6 separate regions of the Homo sapiens genome follow, and all the other regions are linked to region 1. The links are contacts of gene promoters, found by promoter capture Hi-C in human tissues and cell types (Jung and others, 2019). All regions are on one chromosome and are shown on one strand. Each heading gives the region's core, a stretch centred on a gene start or on the middle of the fragment in contact. The rest is flanking DNA. Distances are from core to core; before and after follow the strand shown.

Region 1 (3,616 bases), core at 1,117-3,616:
CCCTGGAGGAGGCAGGGGCTCCCCGCCGCCGAGGCTGCCTGCCCTGGGCCCACCTCTGCATGCTGCTCATGGGGCCACCCTGCCTCCTGGGCCCTCACTCTGCCTAGGGGAGCTGGGCCAGGCACTAGCCTTTGCCCAGGGAGGTGGGCCTCAGGCTGCCCAGGTGCCTGCACCCCAGCCGGCCTTCTCTGGGGCCTCCCCGTCGTCAAGCCTCTATCCTGTCTGTCCCCACCCCAGCTGTCCCCTGCCCAGGGAGCTGGCATAAAAGCACGAGGCCCGGCTCCCTGGGGCAGCTGCTTGAGAACAGAGACTGCTACCCCATCCTGCCCATGCAGGCAGGCTCTTGCCAGCCCCGTTCTGACCCGTGTCCCCCCAGGCTCTGCCTGGGCAGAAGACTCACCTTGGAGGAGTGGGCCCTGGAGTCCTGTCCCTCCCAGAAGCCCCCAGGGTGGGATTTCTCAGGCTGCCAGGGCAGGCCCAGGCCTCAGGAAGAAGGGGAGGCCCCTGGCCTCTCCGGGATCAGTCCTAGGACACAGGCTCAGCCTCAGGTTGATGGGGGATGATGTGCTCCCGGGGCCTGCCTCCTGCACGGGGCTCCACGGAGCCCAGCTCCCAGACACGCTACTAAGTGCCTAGGGTTGCCCGCTGTGGCCTGCTTCCAGGGAGCAACAGAGAGGCCACCAAGCAGAGGCCCGTGGGGCTGAGGATGGAGCCGCCCCCAGCCGACTCCAAGCCCGCAGAGGGCAGACGCCACCCTGGACTGCTCTCCCTGCCCAGCTGGGCCTCTCTGGCCTATTCCTACCTTCCAGGCCCACTGCACTCCTGTCTGGGAGGCCCTTATGAGGGCAGCCCAGCCCCCGCACCCACCCCCAACCAGAGAAGCACAGATCTTGGGGAGCTGCCCCACAAGCCCCGCTGGCCACCGAGGGCTGCAGCCGCTGCGCTGCCGGCTTCTCCCCACCACCCTGCCACCTCCACTGTGATGTATGTCCGCTCCCTCGTCTGTTCCCCCAGGATCTCGAAGTGACTCCGGGCTGAGCAGTGGGGCGGCTGGGGGAGGGGTGACGATTCTCCTCAGGCTTTGGCCCTGCAAGCAAACCCACATATCTGCTCTGTATGTAATAAATGTCTTAACGTCGTAGCTGCCTGTTCCTGGGCCCAAATCGAAACGAAAACGAGGACTTTATTATAAAAAAACGTTGGACCACGTTGGGCTGGGCACCAGGACAGTGTCCTGGCACGTTTCCAGGCGAGCCGCGCAGGCTCCTGGAGCAGCTCCTCGGGCAGGAAACCCTGTACGCCAGGGATTGGAGAGGCCTGCGCCACCCTCCATGCAACGTCCAGACAGGTGGATGTTCAGCAGCCCGTCCAAAGGGATGCTCCAAGCGCTGTGGGGTGGGGCCAGAAGCCCGCCCACCTGGGCCCTGGAGGAGGCTGGAGTGTGAGAGCCTCTGTGACGCGCATCTGCCGGGCTACTCATACAGCCAGTGCCCAGCGCTGTCCTCCCAGCAGAGGAGCTCGTCTGCGCGGAACCAGAGAGCGATCTCGCGGCGGGCACTCTCCACCGAGTCGCTGCCGTGAATCAGGTTCCTGCGCGGAAGAGGCGCGTGTGAGCGTGGGAAAGAGACCTCCGGCACGGGTACCACGCAGGCTGAACAGGGGGAGGCCGGACGGGGCTGGGACCGTCCCCGGGGCGGGCCTTACTTGCCAACCTCGATGCAGAAATCCCCGCGGATGGTGCCGGGCGGGGCGTCGGCCGGGTTCGTGGCTCCGATGAGCGCCCGCGAGGTGCGCACCACGTCCAGCCCCTGCCATACCTGTGCGGAGGAACGGGCGCGGTATCACGCGGGGGTGGGGGTCCCGGAGCCGCCCGCCCGCTTCCCGGATACTCACCATGGCCACCACCGGCCCGGAGGCCATATACTTGACAAGGCGGCCGTAGAACGGGCGTTCACGCAGCTCGGCGTAGTGCTCACGCAGCAGCTCCTCGGAGGCCTGCGGAAGGGTCAGGCCGCCTGCGCCCGCACCCGGCACCTAGGCGTCCCCAGGTCCCCGCTCCCCTTCCCCCCACACCGCGCCCCCGCTCGCTCACCGCGCCCCCACCTGCACCAGCTTCAGCGCCACCAACTTGAAGCCCTTCCTCTCGAAGCGCCGCACAATCTCGCCCACCAGCCGCCGCTGCACGCCGTCCGGCTTCACGGCCAGGAAGGTGCGTTCGTGTGCGCCGGTGCAGGCTGCGGGGCAGGCGGGGACGGGCCGTCAGGCCGGCCCAGCACCGGCCACCCGCCCCCGGCCCGCGCCGCGCGGCTCACCCGCGGGGAAGAGGTTAGCGAAGATGGTCAGCACCAGGCAGATCATGATGGCGGTGCGGGAGCGGGATCCGCGGGGCGGGGCGGTGGCGCCCGGGGCGGGGCCTGCGCTTAAAGAGGCCTGGTCGGGGCGCTGCGGCCTCCGCGGGGAGGCTGCTTCACTTGCACCCCGGAACCCGGCAGCCGTGGGGGGCCGGAGGGCAGCTGCGGAGGCCAAGTCTCCTCCAGCAGCTCGGACACTAACTGTATCCCCCACAACCCGCCCAGGTGGTTCCACCCACGCGGCGCCCTGCTCCGCACCGCCCGAACCCCGCCCCCCCCGCGCCCCCCCGGCCAGGGCCACGACCACAGCGTCAGCCCTTCTCTCCCCGGTCCTAAAGACAGAGCGCAAAGACACCACGACCCTGGGTACTTCTTTTCTCTTTATTCCCTTTCATAGCTTCTGCCGGGATCCAGGCAGAGAGAGCACTAATGGGGGAAAGGGAGCGAGCGCTTCCCGCTTTCCCCAGCGTGGGCCCTCGGAGTTGGGTGTGGGGGCAGCAGGGCCAGAGGAAAGGCACAGGTGGCGATTTGCCCCAGCCCTCCCCCCTAAGATGCAGACCCTCAGAACACGTCGCGGAAGGTGAGCTCCCTGCTCCGAGAGGCAGACTCGGGTGTAACGCAAAGACGGTTTCTTTCATCAATAAGGTCCCCACTGCCTCACAGCCCCTAAGGCCACCCGCTGGTTCTGGCATTCTAGACGGGGGTGCCCTTGGCCCTTCCTTTGTCTTCCTGTTTTGCAGGGTAATCCCAGGGTTCCATGCGTATCCTCTGCACATTCAGCATGGGCTCCTCGGTGCTTGTGTCTCCATTTTTCTGTCGTTCTGCGATAATCATGGCCCGGAGGAGAGGCGGGTACGGCACGGAGGCCAGGCTGTCTTCCGGCGCCGGCGTGAACGCGGTGAAGGCCTCCTCCTCGTGCTTGGGCACCAGCCGCCAGTCATGGTACATGACGTGTTCGATCTCCCGCGCCTCGCTCTCAGTCTTCCCTGATGAAGAAAAAGAGGCGTCTGCACACACTTGCTGTGCCGTCGGCGGTCGGCATCGAACTGCCGGGCACCCGCTCTCCCGAGCCTTACCTTTGAAGGTCAGGATGCCCCAGGCCTTCCCGTGGTCCAAGTTCTGCAAAGCCAGAAGGAAGCGGGGTCAGCTCGCAAAGCTCTCGGCCCCCGAGGTCAGGAGGTGGGAGCCTCAGCCACGCAAACCTGCAGGGAGGAGGGGAGGCGGGGAGACCAGGCGGCTGCAGGGGCGGGGTGCGGACGGGGTGC
Region 2 (3,616 bases), core at 787-3,286, 1.2 Mb after region 1:
AACCTCACTGACCTCAAAAGCCACCCTGTCAAAGGAGCTCAAAATTAATTGGATCTGGCCAGGCACAGTGGCTCATGCCTGTAATCCCAGCATTTTAGGAGGCTGAGGTGAGTAAATCACCTGAGGTGAGGAGTTCGAGTCCAGCCTGGCCAACATGGTGAAACCCCATCTCTACTAAAAATACAAAAATTAGCTGGGTGTGGTGGTGCATGCCTGTAGTCCCAGCTACTCGGGAGGCTGAGGCAGGGGAATTGCTTGAACCTGGGAGGCAGAGATTACAGTGAGCCAAGATCATGCCACTGCACTCCAGCCTGGGCAACAGAGCGAGACTCTGTCTCAAAAAAAAAAAAAAATTTAATTGGATTGGACCGTGGAACACTTTATGCCCCAAGGTATTGTTTGTTTGTTTGTTTTTGAGACAGGGTCTCACTCTGTTGCCCAGGCTGGAGTGCAGTGGTATGATCTCGGCCCACTGCAGCCTCCGACTCCCAGGTTCAAGTAATTCTCTTGCCTCAGCCTCCTGAGTAGCTGGGATTACAGGCGTGTGCCAACACACTAGAATAATTTTTATATTTTTAGTAGAGATGTGGTTTCACCATGTTGGTGAGGCTGGTGCACCAAAGTATTATAAAAAACAATAGAGCGGCTGGGTGTGGTGGCTCACGCCTGTAATCCCAGCACTTCGGGAGGCAAGGTGGGTGGATCACTTGAGGTCAAGACTTCGAGACCAGCCTGGCCTACATGGTGAAACCCCATCTCTACTAAAGATACAAATTTTTGCCGGGCGTGCTGGTGCATGCCTGTAGTCCCAGCTACTCAGAGGCTGAGGCAGGAGAAATGCTTGAACCCAGGAGGTGGAAGTTGCGGTGAGCCGAGATTGCGGCATTGCACTCCAACTGGGCGACAAGAGCAAAACTCCATCTCAAAAAAATATACATAATAGTAAATAAAAAATTAAAAAGAGCAGTCTCCAGTACCTGAGGGAGTACAGGGGTGAGGGGAGCGATGCTACCTGGGCCTGGCTGGCAGGCTGCCCTCCATCTTGTGGAGACTCTTCCTCTGACTCTAACTACCTCAGAGTCCCAGCCCAGGGTTTCTCCAAGTCAGGAGCCAGGGTGTTGGGATCCTGGAGGTCACTGGTCACAAGCACAGCCTCCAGGCCCAACCCTGGCACACTCGGGGACCTGGGCCTGTGCATCTTAACCCAGTTCTCCCACCGTCCCTGCCCTACGACTTACGTTCTAGCATGACTGGCCTGGCCCAACAGCCTCAGTGGTGGGACGGGGGAGGCAGGAGCAGGGGCTCCCACGTGAATCCAGGGTGTCCCTGAGCTAAGGCCAGGCGGGGGTGACCTCCGCAGCTTCCGGGGCCCTGGGCGATCGGGCCGTCTCGCCTCACCCTCTCACCAGGCCCGACACATCTGCTGGCCACCTTTCCCGGTAGACGGTAAGTTCCTCCCAGGCAGGGCCGCGGCTGACTTCACTCCGTGGGTGTGGGGAAGCCCTGGCGAACAGAGCAGTGGACGGGCTGTCACGAGGGAAGAGGGGCTGTTGCAGAAGAAGAGAGGCTGTCCCGGGGCAGGGGCTGTCACGGAGGAAGGACTGTCACGGGGAGGGCGGCGGCGCGGGGTTGATGGACAGCAGGCGGGGTCTCCGGGAGGGGCGAGTAGGGCGGGACCGCCGCTGGGAAGGGGCTCGAGGCAAGGGAACCAGGAATTGGGGAGGACGGGAGGCAGGGGCTCGCGGGGGCGGGCCTGAGGGGACGCGAGCGGGCCGCCGGGGAGGCCTGAGGGGCAGGGGTAACGCAGACCTGGCGAGGCGGAGGGGAGCGGCGAGGTGGCCACGCCGAGGCCCCTCACGGCGGGGTCTGGGCTCACCTGGGGCGACTGGGCGGGGCGCGGGTCCGCGAGGGCCCAGATTCCGGGTCCGCGGAGGCCACGGGACCCCTCGGGTGGCTCAGCGGGCCGGAGTCTGCCGTCGACTGTTCCGGACGCCCGGGCGGAGGACTCCCGTGAGGGGGAACGGCCCGTGAACGCGCGCGGAGCTGCTCGCGCCAAAAATTCCAAACCGGCCTCGAGGCTCCTCCCCCTCCCCAGTGCAGCCCGTCAGGGGTGCCCGGGCTCCGAGGCTCCGCCCCTCGTGCTGCGTGCGCGCCGCCGAGCCGCCCCGCCGCTCACTGCGCAGGCGCACAGGATTCTCCGCGCTGGCCCGGGGCGTGGGTGGCGGCCTGGTTCTGAGTCGCTGCGCGGGGCTTCAGCCGCCCAGTCCCTGGGACGCCCACTGCCCTCCAGGCCTCGCACCCGACACCCACCGCCCTCGCTGGGCTGGCGTAGTGTTTGGGTCCATAAAAGGGACCGCCATCCCGGTGCTCGGAGCAGGCGTAGCCCCAGGGTTACTCCGGGTAGGACCAGGAAGTCCCTACGGCCTCCTGGGTCCCGGCACCCCCCTTCTCACTCCGGCCGTGTTCTGAACCAGGGTCGCGGTGGGAGGCCAGACGCACGACCCCCAACCCCTAGCGCACGGCTTCGGGAGCCAGAAAAAGCCGCCTCTTCCAGGAAGCTCTCCAGATAGGCAGGACTCTGCTTGGCCTGACCTCGCCTGCCTGCAGCTTCCCTGCCAACAGGCCTCAGATACTTTTTTTTTTTTTTTTAGACAGGGTCTCACTGTCACCAAGGCTGGAATGCAGTGGTGCAGTCCCCAGGTTCAGGCGGTTCTCCCAACCTCAGCCTGCCGAGTATGTGAGATCACAGGCGCGCGCCACCGCACTCGGCTCATGTATTTTATTTTTAGACAGGGTCTCATTCTGTTGTCCAGGCTGGAGTGCAGTGGGGCGATCTCGACTCACTGTAACTTCCGCCTCCCCCGCTCAAGCGTTCCTCCCACCTCAGCCTCCTGAGTAGCTGGGACCACAGGCGCGCGCCACCACACCCAACTAATTTTTGCATTTTTTTGTAGAGACGGTGTTTTACCATGTTGGCCAAGCTAGTGTCGAACTTCTGACCTCAAGCGATCCGCCCGCCTCGGCCTCCCAGAAGGCTGGGATTACAGGCGTGAGCCACCGCGATTGGCCGCAGGATCATAGTTCACTGCAGCCTCGAGCAGCCACTTCCGGGGCAGCTCCTCCATTCTCTGAGTTTGAGACTTGCTCTCAGCTCAGATCCCTTCAGCGCTCTCCTGGCTGAACGACCTTGGGAATGCACTGAGCCTTTCTGAGCTTCGGATTAGTCTCCTCTCCTGGAAAAAAAAAAACAGCTGAGGACGCTGGGATGATCCCCTAAAGTGATTAGCAGGGGCCCTCGCGGAGCAAGTCGGGCTAGGGATTGTTCCTTCCCTCACCGAGGGGCTCTTTATCTGTTTAACTGGGTGGGAGGAGTACGCTTCCGGCCAACCCTCCCCCAAACGCTGGCCTTCTCACTCTCACCTCTCCTTCCGCCTTATTTTTGCTATTGCCCTGATCTCTGTCCGATGTTCTATCTTTTGTTTGTGAGTTTACTTGTTGACTACCTGCTCCTTCTAGCCCTGGCCTCCAGAACCAGTCCCCCAAACCCTCCATCCTCCCCAAGTCTCTGACAGGTCATGGACTGCAAAGCTTCCCACCCATTCAGTTCCTGCACCCT
Region 3 (3,616 bases), core at 515-3,014, 1.1 Mb before region 1:
TTCTCTCCGAACCGTTCTTTGTACAGTAAATGTAATTCAGCTGTGGTCCCCACGTTTTGCTGTGTCTGGTGGGGTGGGTCTGGCAGTGGCGGTGCCCCGTGCCAGGGGCCAGTGCTGCTTCATACCCGGCAAACTGACCTCTGGCCTTTGTTTTGCCTGCTGTTCCCTGCGCTGACCGGGCTGACCTGCCGCGGTTGGCTGGGTTCGCCTCAAAGTGAGGGCTGGAGCTGGGCTGGAGCAGCTGGGCCTGGTCACGGCCATTCTCCTCTTCCCGGTGGATGGAATCCCAGCTGGGCTGTGCTGAGCCCTCGCTCACAGTCCCCGGCAGCAGATGGCCTGGGGCGGACTGTCCCCAACAGCAGCAGGACTCCAGAGGGCCAGGTCCTCCAGTCAGTCGGCCCGCTCAGCAGAGCCGCCTGCACGCTGGCCAATCTGGTGTCTGCTATGCCCGGCCCAGGGGGGTGTGGACGCCCCGGAGGTCACAGCTGAGCTGGAACGGGGCACTCCAGTTGGTACAGGGACCAGACCACAGCCTCTGGCTCAGGTGCCTCCCTGTGCTGTTTCGTGGGCATGTCCGGGCCTTAAGCCCCTCCCTGGCAGCTCCAGCCCAGCCGCCTGCTGCTGGGTCTGGCCTAGCTACCCCCACCCCCACGCTATCAGGGCCCACCCCCAGTCTCCTTGTAGAGCAGGGACTGGCGCCTGGAGCCGTCTCCGGGTCTCATTCTGACCAGACCAGGCTCCTGTTACCCTGCCTCCTGGGTCAGAGGTCAGACACAGGGTCAGGGGGACACTCCCATCCGGTCTCAAGAGAACCACTCCCTGAGGCCCCAGACATCTGGAGCCACAGAGGGTTTGGAAGGGTAGATTCCAGGCAGCCTTTTGTCCTGCTGCACCAGGCAGGCCAGCCCCCTGCCCTCCCCAACGAAGAGGAGCCAGCCTGGGGATGTGTGCCCCGCCGACGGGGGGCTGGGGCAGGGCAAGGCTCTGGTGCCCTGGGACACTTGCTCTTTTCAGCTGCAGACGCCCTTGCACTTGGCCTTCCCTCGGGCGGTGCCATCCCACGCGGAGCCACGTCCAGGGCTACACGGTGCGTGGGCCGAGGCTCCGGCATCAGCGTTTCGGGCTGTTCTTATGCTTGTGGTGGCCACAGGCCTCTTCCTGCTGCACCTGCCCCGCCTTGGGGACAGGCCTGAGCCCCAAGCCCGCTGCCTGGTTTCAGGGATGGGGTCTCTGGGAATGCAGTCCTGCCGGGTTGGGCCCCACTCCAACAGGGGCAGCAGAGCAGAGGAGGCCGGGCTGTGCTGGGCGTCCTGCAGACCCCTGTGCCCCTGAAACAGCCATGGAGGGGGGAAGGAACCTCGGAGCGGAGTGAAGCCCTCGGCCGCACGTGACCGTTGCCAGCCTGGACCTGGCCCGGGGGACCCAGGCTGTGGTCAGCCACGCTCTGCGGGGAGGGCCCGTGCCTGCCACCCCCATGGCATAGGAGCCTGGGGTCCAGAGGGCGCCAGGGACAAAAGCTGGGATCTGCTGGCCCTGCCCCCACCCTACTGAGGGTCGTCAAGGAGATTGATCTCAGCCCAGGGGTGGACGAAGGGGTTCAGGTTACAGGGTCCCCTCCCCTCCCCCTCTCCAGCCAGAGCCAGCCCTTCCCCGCCCCGGTGACCCTCATGGCCAGTGGCTCTGTGCTCATGGGCCTCTGGCCCCTCCCCAACCTCCTCCCCTCTGCCCTGTGCTGACCAGGGCCTGGGAGCCCCCGCACGGTTCAGACAGAGGGGCCAGGCTGAAGCTGGAGAGGAACCAGCGTCACACAGACGGCCTCTGAGAACTTGGAGACCCCGTTACCCACCCAGCAGGGGTGTCAGGACAAGCATCTGCTGCAGGCTTCAGCCTCAGGGGCAAAAGGGAGCCCCGGGGTCCTGGTGGGGGCACCGACCACAGGCCCGGAGGGTGGATGCCTGCAGGAAGCTGGGCTCTGTGGAGCCCGAGGAGGGGCTGGTGGCCACACCCCCCGGCCCCCTGGCTCGGCGGCCCTCATGCCCGCCCTACGTCCACTCCTGCCGCTCCTGCTCCTCCTCCGGCTGACCTCGGGGGCTGGCTTGCTGCCAGGGCTGGGGAGCCACCCGGGCGTGTGCCCCAACCAGCTCAGCCCCAACCTGTGGGTGGACGCCCAGAGCACCTGTGAGCGCGAGTGTAGCAGGGACCAGGTGAGTGTGGTCGGGCCGGGGTCCTGGGGCTCAGAGCAGCCAGCCTGGGCAAGACCCTGCTGGAGGTGCCACCTTCTGCCTGGGCTCCCCAGACTTCTGGGGGGTCTGGGTCTGGGCCCCTTAAGGGGCCCAGAGACACCCCCATCGTTGCCCTCATTTGTCTTAAGAATAAGAGCCCTCCCCACTCCAGCTTTCATGCTCCCCATGTGCCTCCACCCTGGGGCACCATCATCCTCGGCGACCACCCCCACCCCGTCACTGCCTCTCCTCCCACCCTCTCCTCCCACCCTCTCCTCCCATCCACTTCTCCCACCCCTTCACTGCCTCTCCTTCCATCCTCTCCTCCCACCCTCTCCTCCCATCCACTCCTCCCATCCACTTCTTCCATCCTCTTCTCCCACCCCGTCACTGCCTCTCCTTCCATCCTCTCCTATCCACTCCTCCCATCCACTTCTTCCATCCTCTTCTCCCACCCCATCACTGCCTCTCCTTCCATCCTCTCCTATCCACTCCTCCCATCCACTTTTTCCATCCTCTTCTCTCACCCCGTCATTGCCTCTCCTTCCATCCTCTCCTCCCATCCACTTCTCCCACCCCTTCACTGCCTCTCCTCCCACCCTCTCCTCCCATCCACTCCTCCCATCCACTCCTCCCATCCACTTCTTCCATCCTCTTCTCCCACCCCGTCACTGCCTCTCCTTCCATCCTCTCCTCCCACCCTCTCCTTCCATCCTCTCCTCCCACCCTCTCCTTCCATCCACTGTCCTCCCTGTCCTCCCACCCTCCTTCCATCCGGGACCAGTGCAGATGGTGGTGGGGGTGCTGCAGCCGATGTCCAGCCTTTGTCCTGGCCCGCACCACCTGCTGGGTGGTCCTGAGCACTGTACGCCCTCCTTGGGCCTCAGTTTCCTCGTCTGTACAACGTAAAGAATAACGGAACTTGCTTGTGGGTGTGAGGATTCTGGAAGGTAAGCCAGGTGGCACCTCTGGCGAGGTGGCTCCTCACACAGGATGGAAAGGACACTGAGTCCCCGGGGAGGCAGCCACAGAGCGGGGGGCTCCCTGCTACCCCACCTGGGCCTCCCCTTGCAGGGGCCAGGCCAGAGCCCCGGGGCGGGGGGCATTGGGGCTCCCACCTAAGTGTCCCCCATCCCCAGGACTGTGCGGCTGCTGAGAAGTGCTGCATCAACGTGTGTGGACTGCACAGCTGCGTGGCAGCACGCTTCCCCGGCAGCCCAGCTGCGCCGACGACAGCGGCCTCCTGCGAGGGCTTTGTGTGCCCACAGCAGGGCTCGGACTGCGACATCTGGGACGGGCAGCCCGTGTGCCGCTGCCGCGACCGCTGTGAGAAGGAGCCCAGCTTCACCTGCGCCTCGGACGGCCTCACCTACTACAACCGCTGCTATATGGAC
Region 4 (3,616 bases), core at 785-3,284, 1.1 Mb before region 1:
CTGGCCCGGGGCTGCTCCTGAGTTCTGCCAGGCAGCACCGCACCTGGGATGGGCACCAACCATGTCCGTCTCCTCCCTTCCTGCAGTCCAGGGCCAAGGCTTGTGTTCAATCGTGTGAATGGCCGGCGGGCCCCCTCCACGTCCCCATCCTTCGAGGGGACCCAGGAGACCTACACAGTGGCCCACGAGGAGAATGTCCGCTTTGTGTCCGAAGGTAGCGAGCGGGGCCAGAGGGTGCGGCATAGGCTGCTGGGTCGCAAAACCATGGACCCGGGATGGCCCCACTTCAAGCTGACCCACAGCCGCTGCATGGCTGTGCTTTTCCTTGGCACTCTGCCCTTGTGTCCTGTGACCAGCCCTGTGTGGGGCTGGAGTCCAGGGTGACCATCAGGCCCTGGGTGGGCGATGGGGTGCCTGGGACCTGGCTCAGCCCGACTGCCCTCCTCCCACAGCCTGGCAGCAGGTGCAACAGCAGCTGGATGGTGGCCCAGCCGGTGAGGGCGGGCCAAGGCCTGTGCAGTACGTGGAGAGGACCCCCAATCCCCGGCTGCAGAGTGAGCCCCCCAACCCTGTCCCCCCAGGAGAGACCCCCCAGCCCCTCTGATCCTGACCCAGGCCCTGCCAGGTTCCCACCCCAGGGGATGAGGGAGGGGACTCTTGTGCAGAAACCCCTTCTTCCCAGCGCCTGCCGCACTCGGAGTCCGGGTGAGCGGCTTGTGGTTAGCTCCAGGGGAGACTTGCCGGCTGGCCTGGGAGGCAGCATCACTGCCCAGCCTTCTCTGCCCACAGACTTTGTGCCCATTGACCTAGACGAGTGGTGGGCGCAGCAGTTCCTGGCGAGAATCACCAGCTGTTCCTAGTGGCTGCTGGGAGGGGGCGCTGCTACACGGCCGACCTGTCGCCAGGAGAGAAGCATGGCGCCCTGCCCACCCACTGCGCCTGGCTGGGTGCCGGCCACACCTGAAGTGCCAGCATTTGGACTTTTGCACCTTTTTTTCCCTTGGCCCGGCTGTCCCAACCAAGCTGCCATGGCCAAGGGCCGAACCCGTCTGACCTCAGCCCTGCTCACTGTGCCCAGGGACCAGCGACCAGCCCCTGGGGCTGGCAGGGAGGAGCTCCAGGCTAATAAAGTGGAGAAACTGTCTTTTTGGAGTGTCTTTGACTTGGGAGGGTGTAGGGGGGGTTCTCATGTCCAGTTCCAGTCCACAGCCTGGGACGCCAGGCCCAGCACAAACTCCCCTTGTAGCCCTGTTCCTTCAAGCCGTTAGCTTCTCACCCAGCTGCCCTGCGACAGGTAGGAGGGACGTTAGCCAGCCCACCTTGCTTGGAAGTCTGGGGACCCCACTTGGTTCCTCTTTCCTCTCCCGTTGGCGTTGACTGGGACCGAAGCCGAGACTCAAGGCCTAAAGACATTAAATGGCCCCGGAGTGCAGTCCACCACCCCCCACTACCGGCACTGGGGCTGTGTCTCAGAACGCCAGGTCCCATTCTGAATCCGCCGGGCCCGGCCGCAGGACACTGGGCGAAGGAGTACGTGGGGAACCTGATAGGACGAACGTGGGAACCAGCCCCTCCGCGGGCGCCCGCACTACCTTCCCTGATGGACGGGGATGACCCAGCCCACCTGAGTCAGGACCCAGGGTACCCAGGTGTGGAGCAGGGGCCTCTGGACGGCGAGAGAGCGGCAGGGTGAGGCCCGGCCGTCCGTGGCATGGCCAGGCCTCAGCGCGACCTCGCCTCGCTGCTTGCATGCGGCGGGAGCCCCGGCCGGCCGAGGCGCTGACAGGTGGGCGCGGCGGAGGATCCGCAACCGGCGCGGGCTTCGAAGCCGGTCGGGCTAACAGGGGGCTGCCTTGGGAGGCCCGCGGGGCAAAGGGCAGCGGGATTCGCGGCTGGAGCAACCCTGGAGGCCGCTGACGTGAGCGGGGTACTCCCACCGGGGAGGTCACGTGGCCAGGGCGCCGCCATGACGGCGGAAGTAATGGCGGAAGTGGCACCGTTGCCAGGCAGCCGTTGCCTGGCGTCGCGGGGCGTACTCTGCGCTGGGCGCGCGGAGGCCTAGGCGGGAAGCTCGAGCGGCGGCGCCATGGCCCGAGGTAGCGCGCGGCTGGCGGGGGTCCCGAGGATCCCGGGTTCCGGGGTTCCGGGGTCCAGGGTCGGCGGCCGGAGCGCTCAGGGCCCCCGCCTAGGCCCTGAGGCCAGAGTCCCCGCTCAGGCAGGGTCCCGTCTGCCGGGCGCCCACCCTCGGGCTCCCGGAGCTTGGCTTCCCTCGGGCGCCCGGCCTCGTCCCGCCAGCCTAGCTGGCGTTGGCGTCGCCGGGGAAGGCGCGGAGAGCCCCGGCTCCTGCCTGGTCCCCGAGGCCCGGCCCAGCCCCGCAGTGGCCCCGGCTCGCGTGGCCGAGTCCCCTGACGCCCGGCGCCCGCTCCCCGCAGCGTGGCAGCACCCGTTCCTCAACGTCTTCAGACACTTCCGGGTGGACGAGTGGAAGCGCTCCGCCAAGCAGGGGGACGTGGCCGTGGTCACGGTAGGCGGCCGGGGGCTCGCCCGGAGCCCACACCCCTGCCCTGCCCCCAGGAGAGCTGCCCCGCCCCCGAGGGCCCCCTCGCCCCCGCTGCACTTCTTCTGGGTGCTGTCGGTGATGCGGGCTCCCGCTTCTCCAGGACAAGACCCTGAAGGGCGCCGTGTATCGCATTCGGGGCTCAGTCTCTGCCGCCAACTACATCCAGCTCCCTAAGAGCAGCACCCAGTCTCTGGGGCTGACGGGACGATACCTGTATGTGCTCTTTCGGCCCCTGCCCAGCAAGCACTTCGTCATCCACCTCGATGTGTCCTCCAAGGTACGGAGCCCGCGGCTGGGGGCTGCGTGGGAGCCCCGGCACCCCTGCGGCCCCTGTCTCCTCACGGCCCTGCTCCGTCCCCACAGGACAACCAAGTCATCCGTGTGTCTTTCTCCAACCTCTTCAAGGAGTTTAAGTCTACGGCCACGTGGCTCCAGTTTCCCTTGGTCCTGGAGGCCAGGACACCTCAGAGAGGTGACACCAAGATGGGGTGTGGATGATCCAGGACAGGTGGCTGGAGGGAGTTGGTGCAGGCCCAGTGAGGCTCCTCTGCGGCCTGGAGGACAACCTGGCGGGGGCACAAGCTCACAGTTCTGGGAGTCGCGGGCTGTCAGGAGGGTGGGCGCTGACCCTGAGTGCCCATCCTGCAGATCTGGTGGGTTTGGCCCCCTCCGGAGCCCGCTGGACCTGCCTGCAGCTCGATCTGCAGGACGTTCTCCTGGTCTACCTGAACCGGTGCTACGGCCATCTCAAGAGCATCAGGCTGTGCGCCAGCCTGCTGGTCAGGAACCTGTACACCAGTGACCTGTGCTTTGAGCCTGGTGAGGGCCGCACCTGCACTCCCCACTCCATATCTCACCCATGCTCTCAGCCCTGGAGAGGCCCAAGTCCAGGGTGCTTGGGAAAATACAGTGCTCGAGCTGTGCTGTCTCTGAGCTCTGGCCAGAACCCATCCCAGAGGCAGCCCTGGGGTCAGAACCCATCCCAGAGGCAGCCCTGGGGTGGGGCGGTGGCTGGGCTGGTGGCGTGGCAGTGCCTTGGCGGGTGCCCTGTGTTCA
Region 5 (2,528 bases), core at 1-2,500, 1.1 Mb before region 1:
AGCCTCACGCTGGCTGCTCACAGGTGGTGGAGAAGATACCACTGCCCTTTTTTGCCATGTCCCTGAGCCTGTCCCCCGGGACCCACCTCCTGGCTGTTGGCTTTGCTGGTGAGTGCTGGTGGATGCAGTTTGGGCCTGTCTTAGGTGGGGGCCAAGTGGGCTGACTGGTGCCCTGTTCCAAGACAGGTGCCTCACCTGTGCCCCGGGCTCCTCGTCTCTGGGGTGGGGTGAGGACATCTGCCCTAGAGAGGGTCCTGGAGTCAGGAGATGATGAGGCAGGTGAGGAACCAGGCACAGCGCCCAGCACAGGGCCTGAATGCACGGGTGGCAGCGACTTTTAAGGAGGGAACTGGCCCAGCTGCAGGCCGACAGCCTGGCAGTGATGGACCCCCTAGTCCCAGTGGCACGTGGAGGGCACAGCCAGGAGCCCTTTTAGCACCAGCTCCCCCGACCAGCATCATGCCCAGTGGGGACAGTCTGGGTGGGTTGGGGGAGCCCTCTGAGTGCTGCCTGGTCCTGGCCCTGGCCCACCTGCACCGTCTACCCACAGAGTGCATGCTGAGGCTGGTAGACTGTGCCATGGGGACTGCCCAAGACTTTGCCGGCCACGACAACGCAGTGCACCTGTGCAGGTTTACACCGTCCGCCAGGCTGCTCTTCACGGCCGCCCGCAACGAGATCCTTGTGTGGGAGGTCCCCGGCCTCTGAGATGCAGCAGGGACTGTGGTGGTGGGCATCACGCCTGGTCATGCCAGGCACCTGGACACAGGCTTGGCAGAGGCGCCAGGTTGTCAATGGCCTCATGCTGGGACAGGCCAGGATTCACGTAAATCGCCTGGAGCAAGCTGTTGTAAATTTGGCGCCCTGTGAATACTTTCATACCTGTTGCCCTTTTGCCTAAGAAATCTTTAATGTTTCTATCTTGTAATAAACATGGGCATTTATTGCATTATTGCTGCATTGTTGCACTGGCTGTCTCTGGTCACTCCTGGCCTGAGCTCAGCCTCTGCCCGTCCCTTAATCGGCTGTTTGTCAAGGCCCCTGTGGTGCCGTGAAGCAATGGCCGCTCGGCCTGCCAGGGCGCCAGGACCCTGCGCTGTCCGCCGTGGCCGGCGCGTCCACACGGTGGCGCGCCGCACAGCCTGTCCGCTCTGGCCCGCCCGGCTCGCTGGTGCGGCTGTGCGGGCGGGGCCGGAAGTGTGGGGACAGCGCGGGGCCGAGAACCGGAAGTGCGGGGCGGGCGCGGGGGCAGAGCGAAAGGCTTGAGGACCAGGTCGGGGCCGGGTTCCGGGTCGGGGAGCGGCTCCGGGCGGCAGCTATGAGGCGGGACGTGCGCATCCTGTTACTGGGCGAGGGTAGGCGCCGGCCCGGGGGTCTCGGAGCTGCGGCGGCCGTGAGGCGGGGTGAGGGTCTCGGGGGTCGGGGGGCGCCGTGACCTTGGCCCTCGCGCTGACCGCCTCGCCCCGCGCAGCCCAGGTGGGGAAGACGTCGCTGATCCTGTCCCTGGTGGGCGAGGAGTTCCCCGAGGAGGTAAGGGGCACGCCCGCCGCGGGGGTGGGAGCGGGCCCAGCCGGGGGTCCCTGGTGAGCGCGCGGGTCCCTTGCAGGTCCCTCCCCGCGCGGAGGAGATCACCATCCCCGCGGACGTCACCCCGGAGAAGGTGCCCACCCACATCGTGGACTACTCAGGTAGCGGCCGTAGCCTCCCGGGGGCCCGGCCCGCAGCGGTCCGGCGGGCCTGCTGGGTCCGCAGTGGAGTCTCTTTGTCCCCCTAGAAGCCGAGCAGACGGACGAGGAGCTGCGGGAGGAGATCCACAAGGTACCCGTGGTGCGCGGGACGAGGGAGGGGCTGGGCGCGGGCTCGGCCTAATCCGCTTCGCAGCCTGGGGGATTGGACCGAGGTGCTCCGGGTGTCCTTGGCCCTGATAATTCTGTGACCTCCGCACTGAGGGTTGTCGGGGCCCCTACAGCGCACCCCGCTGGGAGCCGGCACCGCTCAGTCCAGTGGTGCTCCAGGGATAACAGGACCCTTCCCCGCGGGCTCTCCCTCCCTCCTGCCGGGGTGGCAGCAGCGTTTGCTCTTCCTGTGGGCTCTGTGTGCGCCACGTCCCCGTGCTGTGTGCTCCAGCCCACCGTCCCGGCCTCCGGGCACCCGGAGCTCCCAGTACCAGAGCACGTGTGCCGGGGACATCTCCAGGCAAGGGCACAGGCCACAGCCACCCAGGGCAGCCCCTGCTGTTGGCACCCCTCACTGCGGTCCTGTCACTCTGTCTGTAGCGAGGGGGGAGGCAGGGGCCAAGGCGGCGGCTGTCTTGCAGGGTGTTGGGTTGCAGGTGTGGCCGTGTCTGTCCTGAGCCCTCTGCTCCAAGGGTCTTGCTGACCACAGTTATGCTTCTGGGGCCTGGTGTCCCTGCACTGGCAGTGGGCGGGGAAGAGGCTTCTCTGAGGGTTCAGCAGCAGCTCCCAGTGTGACACTGGGGAGTGCCTGCTCTGCCAACACCAGGCTGGAGGCAGGTTTTAGGGAAGGCT
Region 6 (3,616 bases), core at 301-2,800, 1.1 Mb before region 1:
AGGATGACTCAGGGCCCAGCCATCACCATAGCAACACGCGTCGCCTAGCAATGGCGGTCTCCCGGCAACGGTTGTCTCCTAGCAATGGGATATTTTCCTGGGCCCTGGCTGGAGCCCGGCAGTTATTTTTAGCTCCACAGCAAATCAGTCGGCAGCTGCATTTTCGGCTCCTTGAAGAGAGGCAAGGTGTGGGGGGGTGGGTCTCTCGGCAAAGGGAGGAAAGCATCCCCAAGATAGGAATCTTGCTGCCGTGGGCCCGGAGGTGCAGGCCTGTGGGTGGGCGAGGCCGGATCCTGCCTGTGCAGGGGGGCAGGTGGCCGGTGGAGGGGAGCCAGGGGTTGTGCAGGCTGCCTGGATGAGTCGGCAGCTAGGACTATGTCCTTGATGGGCCCCCAAGCACCCTGAGCCTCATAGGTCGGCTGGGTAGAGGGGACGCAGGCCAGTGCTCACAGCTGCACTATCAGAGCATGTTTCTGGGTGGCCCAGGGTCTGGCAGGCTCTTGGCACCCAGTGCCCCTCAGCTGTGGGAGCCATCTTCACTGTCCCAGACCCCAGCTCCACCCAGGGAGGGGGCAGCAGGGCGGCCGCAGAGCAGCACATTTGGCCAATCCCGTGCAGGGCTCAGCTGGGGACACAGGAGGCGCTGGCTTCAGGTCAGCCCACACCTCTCTCCTCGCTCCGCTGCCAGTGAACAGAGACACAGGCGGGGGTCTTGGCCTACGATCTGGCCCTTCTCTCTAGGCTTCCTCCCCATTTCCTGGGGGATCCTGTTCACCGGTGCGTCCAAACTCCCCAACTCCCTCAGGGCAGATGGGCTGGGTGGGGCCGGCCTTACCCGCCTCCCCTTTGCAGCAGGTCAAAGGCTCTGAGGCAGATGGAGCTTCAAGCAAACAAGGAGCCCCCAGGGCTCACCCTCTGTGGTTCCTGGTTTACTCGAAGTTCTGTCTGCCTCAGGGCCTTTGCCCCTCTTCTCCCCAGGGTTGGGGCTCCCTTCCTGCCCCCCCATCAACTCCCCTCGTCCTTGATGTTGCTCCCCCAGGGCCCCAGCCAGCCAGCTCCTGCCCTGGCCGTGACAGCTGCTATTCTGTGCCCGGCACTGTGGTGTCCCCAGCGGGTTGTTCGGCACTCCGTGGCGCAGCCACCTGTCCGCAGCCGCTCCCCTGCGGGACGTGGGCTGCCTGTGCCACGCACTGCTGGGGCCCAGCTCATGGCAAATGCAGCACTGGTGTCCTCCACGGGCCGGAACCTGTGTCTGGGGGGAGAACGCAGTGGCCGAAGGTGGGAACCATGTGGCAGTGACCAGGGTCTCGACCGCCCCCACCCCAGCACCCCCTCAGGCTGCAGCTCCAAGGGCCCTCTGGGCAAGACAGGAACAGAAACCAAGTCTCAGGCTTCGGGACAAGCTGTGAGGCTGGCCGCCCTGCCTTGGGCTGAGGGGCCTTGTGATATGGCGTCTGTGTTTGGCCACGGCCAGGCTGACCCGCAGGCGGGAGAGATGATTGTCCCAGACTCTGCACTCTCCAGGGGTGGCCTCACGCGCTAGGCCCAAGGTTTCTGAAACAAAGCCTCAGGGAAGTTCTTCCTTTTGTCTGACTTGAGTATGTCTTGCTGCTGTCGCGTTCTGACTTGGGTGGAAATGGAGAGAGGCCCCTTCTGGGGTTTCAGGGCACTCAAGGGTCTGGGGCTTGGGGCACTTGAGGGGGCCCCCAAACAGCACAGACAGCCACGGCATCACCTAAGCTTGGGGATGCCTTCCAGGCACTCCTCCGCCCAGCCACCCCCCACTTAGTCTGCTGGTATTTACTGAGCACCAGCACCCTGGCAAGTCGGGTCCTGTACCCATAGCAACTGAGGACAGACTCGGCCTTCCAGGCCCCTCCTGTAGGCAGCACAGCACTCACTGATGCCAGGTGCTTTCCTGGGTGGGGCCGGGGGCTGTGAGGAAAAGGGGTGTGTGTCCAGGGCTTCTCCTGTGGGTGGCTGCATTGGCACCGGATCCCCGGAGATGAGGCTGGGGAGGAGGCAGGGACGCCCGGGGTTGAGGCGTCAACTCGGGGCCAGGCATGTGCCATTCCAGACCAGGTCACCCCAGGAACCCCTCCCTCCAACCACAGACACTGGCCCCTCTCTGGAGGAGGCCTGGGGAGAAGTCCGGGGCCCAGGCTGTCAGGAGGGTGTCTGGGGCTGACCCTCACGCCGCCACCAGAGGGCGCCTGGAGCCCACCGTGCTGACCCGGGGACCGCCAAGCGGCAGCAGCCCTGGACGGCTGGGTGGCTGCAGCGGCCGACCCGTGTGCCTCTCCCCACCTCTGCGAGCACCTCATGTGCTCAGCCCCAGGCCGAGTCTACCCTTTAACCTTTACGATTTTTATATTTTATTTATTTATTTTTTAATTTTTATTGAGACAGGGTCTCTTCTGTCGCCCTGGTTGGAGTGCAGTGGTGCAATCACAGCTCACTGCAGCCTCACCCTCCTGGGCTTAAGCAATCCTCCTGCCACAGCCTCCCAAAGTGCTAAGACTACATGCATGAGCTGCTGCACCCAGCTAATTTTTGTAGTTTTAGTGGAGTTGGGGTTTCAACATGTTGGCCAGGCTGGTCTTGAACTCCTGATGTCAAGCGATCATCCTGCCTCAGCCTCCCAAAGTGCTGAGATTACAGGCAGGAGCTGCCACACCCGGCCTTAATTTTTATGTAATTAATTAATTAATTTTTATGAGACAGACTCTCACTCTGTCACCCAGGCTGGAGTGCAGTGGCCTGATCTCAGCTCACTGCAACCTCCACCTCCCGGGTTCAAGCGGTTCTCCTGTCTCAGCCTCCCAAGTAGCTAGGACTGCAGGCGTGCGCCACCACGTCCAGCTAATTTTTGTATTTTTAGTAGAGATGGGGTTTCACCATGTTGGCCAGGCTGGTCTCGAACTCCCGACCTTGTGATCTCCCTGCCTTGGCCTCCCAAACTGCTGAAATTACAGGTGGGAGCCGCTGCGCCTTGACAATTTTTATTTTTAATTGTAAGATATACATCATAACATCTACCATTTTACCCATTTTAAAGTGTGCAGTTCCGTACTGTTGAGTACATTTGTGTTGTGTAATCAAGCTCCTGAATTCTGTCCCCATTAAGCTCCAATCCCTCATTCCCCTCCCCAGCCCCTGCTCCACTTTCTGTCCTCATGACCGTGACTACTCTAAGGTGACTCACAGAAGTGGAATCCAACAGTGTTTGTCCTTTTGTCTCTGGCTTATTTTGCTCAGCGCATAAGCCTCCAGGCTCATCCAGGCTGTAGCGGGTGTCAAGGGACCAGAACTTCATTCCTTTTTATGGCTTAATAATGGACCCACCGCCAGGGGGTGCCGTGGCTCATGCCTGTAATCCCAACACTTTGGGAGGCTGAGGTGGGCGGATCACCTGAGGTCGGGAGTTCAAGACCAGCCTGACCAGCATGGAGAAACCTCGTCTCTACTAAAAATACAAAATTAGCCGGCATGATGGCACATGCCTGTAATCCCAGCTGCTCGGGAGGCTGACGCAGGAGAATCGCTTGAACCCAGGAGGTGGAGGTTGCAGTGAGCCAAGATCGCGCCATTGCACTCCAGACTGGGCAAAGAGCGA

Evidence for each region. Contacts are between HindIII fragments. The study calls those that stand out against the background at their distance.
Region 2: a contact is called between the fragment with the promoter of PKMYT1 here and the fragment with the promoter of NME3 in region 1, in 1 of the 25 tissues and cell types used here (spleen).
Region 3: the fragment with the promoter of WFIKKN1 here is called in contact with the fragment with the promoter of NME3 in region 1 in 1 of the 25 tissues and cell types used here (spleen).
Region 4: a contact is called between the fragment with the promoter of WDR90 here and the fragment with the promoter of NME3 in region 1, in 1 of the 25 tissues and cell types used here (spleen).
Region 5: the fragment with the promoter of RHOT2 here is called in contact with the fragment with the promoter of NME3 in region 1 in 1 of the 25 tissues and cell types used here (dorsolateral prefrontal cortex).
Region 6: a contact is called between a fragment that was not itself captured here and the fragment with the promoter of NME3 in region 1, in 1 of the 25 tissues and cell types used here (spleen).

Annotation. Positions count from the first base shown.
Region 1 is chr16:1,769,177-1,772,792 of GRCh38, forward strand. It overlaps NME3 (NME/NM23 nucleoside diphosphate kinase 3), which reads right to left and starts at 2,367. Exons shown (of 5, transcript NM_002513.3): 1 at 2,313-2,367; 2 at 2,104-2,234; 3 at 1,894-1,995; 4 at 1,705-1,817; 5 at 1,144-1,590. The coding sequence starts at 2,358. The coding sequence ends at 1,473. It overlaps MAPK8IP3 (mitogen-activated protein kinase 8 interacting protein 3), which reads left to right. Exons shown (of 32, transcript NM_001318852.2): 32 at 1-1,175. MRPS34 (mitochondrial ribosomal protein S34) reads right to left here. Exons shown (of 3, transcript NM_023936.2): 2 at 3,428-3,470; 3 at 2,719-3,337. The coding sequence ends at 3,045. RefSeq lists silencers at 1,603-1,802, 2,113-2,702, 3,573-3,616 and an enhancer at 3,003-3,092. The HindIII fragment of the contact is 25,298 bases long and covers 1-3,616 here.
Region 2 is chr16:2,978,410-2,982,025 of GRCh38, forward strand. It overlaps PKMYT1 (protein kinase, membrane associated tyrosine/threonine 1), which reads right to left and starts at 2,037. Exons shown (of 9, transcript NM_004203.5): 1 at 1,877-2,037; 2 at 1,239-1,503. The coding sequence starts at 1,248. RefSeq lists enhancers at 727-1,603, 1,604-2,479, 2,480-3,356 and silencers at 1,771-2,000, 2,011-2,370. The HindIII fragment of the contact is 14,611 bases long and covers 1-3,616 here.
Region 3 is chr16:629,221-632,836 of GRCh38, forward strand. It overlaps WFIKKN1 (WAP, follistatin/kazal, immunoglobulin, kunitz and netrin domain containing 1), which reads left to right and starts at 1,765. Exons shown (of 2, transcript NM_053284.3): 1 at 1,765-2,204; 2 at 3,362-3,616. The coding sequence starts at 2,034. It overlaps RAB40C (RAB40C, member RAS oncogene family), which reads left to right. Exons shown (of 6, transcript NM_021168.5): 6 at 1-48. RefSeq lists enhancers at 390-1,123, 649-943, 1,124-1,858. The HindIII fragment of the contact is 11,828 bases long and covers 1-3,616 here.
Region 4 is chr16:647,331-650,946 of GRCh38, forward strand. It overlaps WDR90 (WD repeat domain 90), which reads left to right and starts at 2,035. Exons shown (of 41, transcript NM_145294.5): 1 at 2,035-2,096; 2 at 2,433-2,524; 3 at 2,661-2,837; 4 at 2,924-3,032; 5 at 3,209-3,379. The coding sequence starts at 2,087. It overlaps MCRIP2 (MAPK regulated corepressor interacting protein 2), which reads left to right. Exons shown (of 5, transcript NM_138418.4): 3 at 87-214; 4 at 453-554; 5 at 790-1,144. The coding sequence ends at 860. LOC105371038 (a long non-coding RNA gene) reads right to left here and starts at 1,983. Exons shown (of 2, transcript NR_135177.1): 1 at 1,625-1,983; 2 at 1,128-1,285. RefSeq lists enhancers at 600-649, 2,072-2,894 and silencers at 2,070-2,169, 2,280-2,409. The HindIII fragment of the contact is 7,525 bases long and covers 1-3,616 here.
Region 5 is chr16:666,882-669,409 of GRCh38, forward strand. RHOT2 (ras homolog family member T2) reads left to right here and starts at 1,251. Exons shown (of 19, transcript NM_138769.3): 1 at 1,251-1,355; 2 at 1,472-1,530; 3 at 1,607-1,688; 4 at 1,775-1,818. The coding sequence starts at 1,319. WDR90 (WD repeat domain 90) reads left to right here. Exons shown (of 41, transcript NM_145294.5): 40 at 24-108; 41 at 551-949. The coding sequence ends at 708. RefSeq lists an enhancer at 962-1,643 and silencers at 1,029-1,368, 1,429-1,528, 1,629-1,718. The HindIII fragment of the contact is 52,780 bases long and covers 1-2,528 here.
Region 6 is chr16:709,692-713,307 of GRCh38, forward strand. No RefSeq gene overlaps it. Among named protein-coding and RNA genes, the nearest start is that of METRN, 3.6 kb to the right of the region's middle. RefSeq lists a silencer at 2,169-2,298. The HindIII fragment of the contact is 2,976 bases long and covers 63-3,038 here.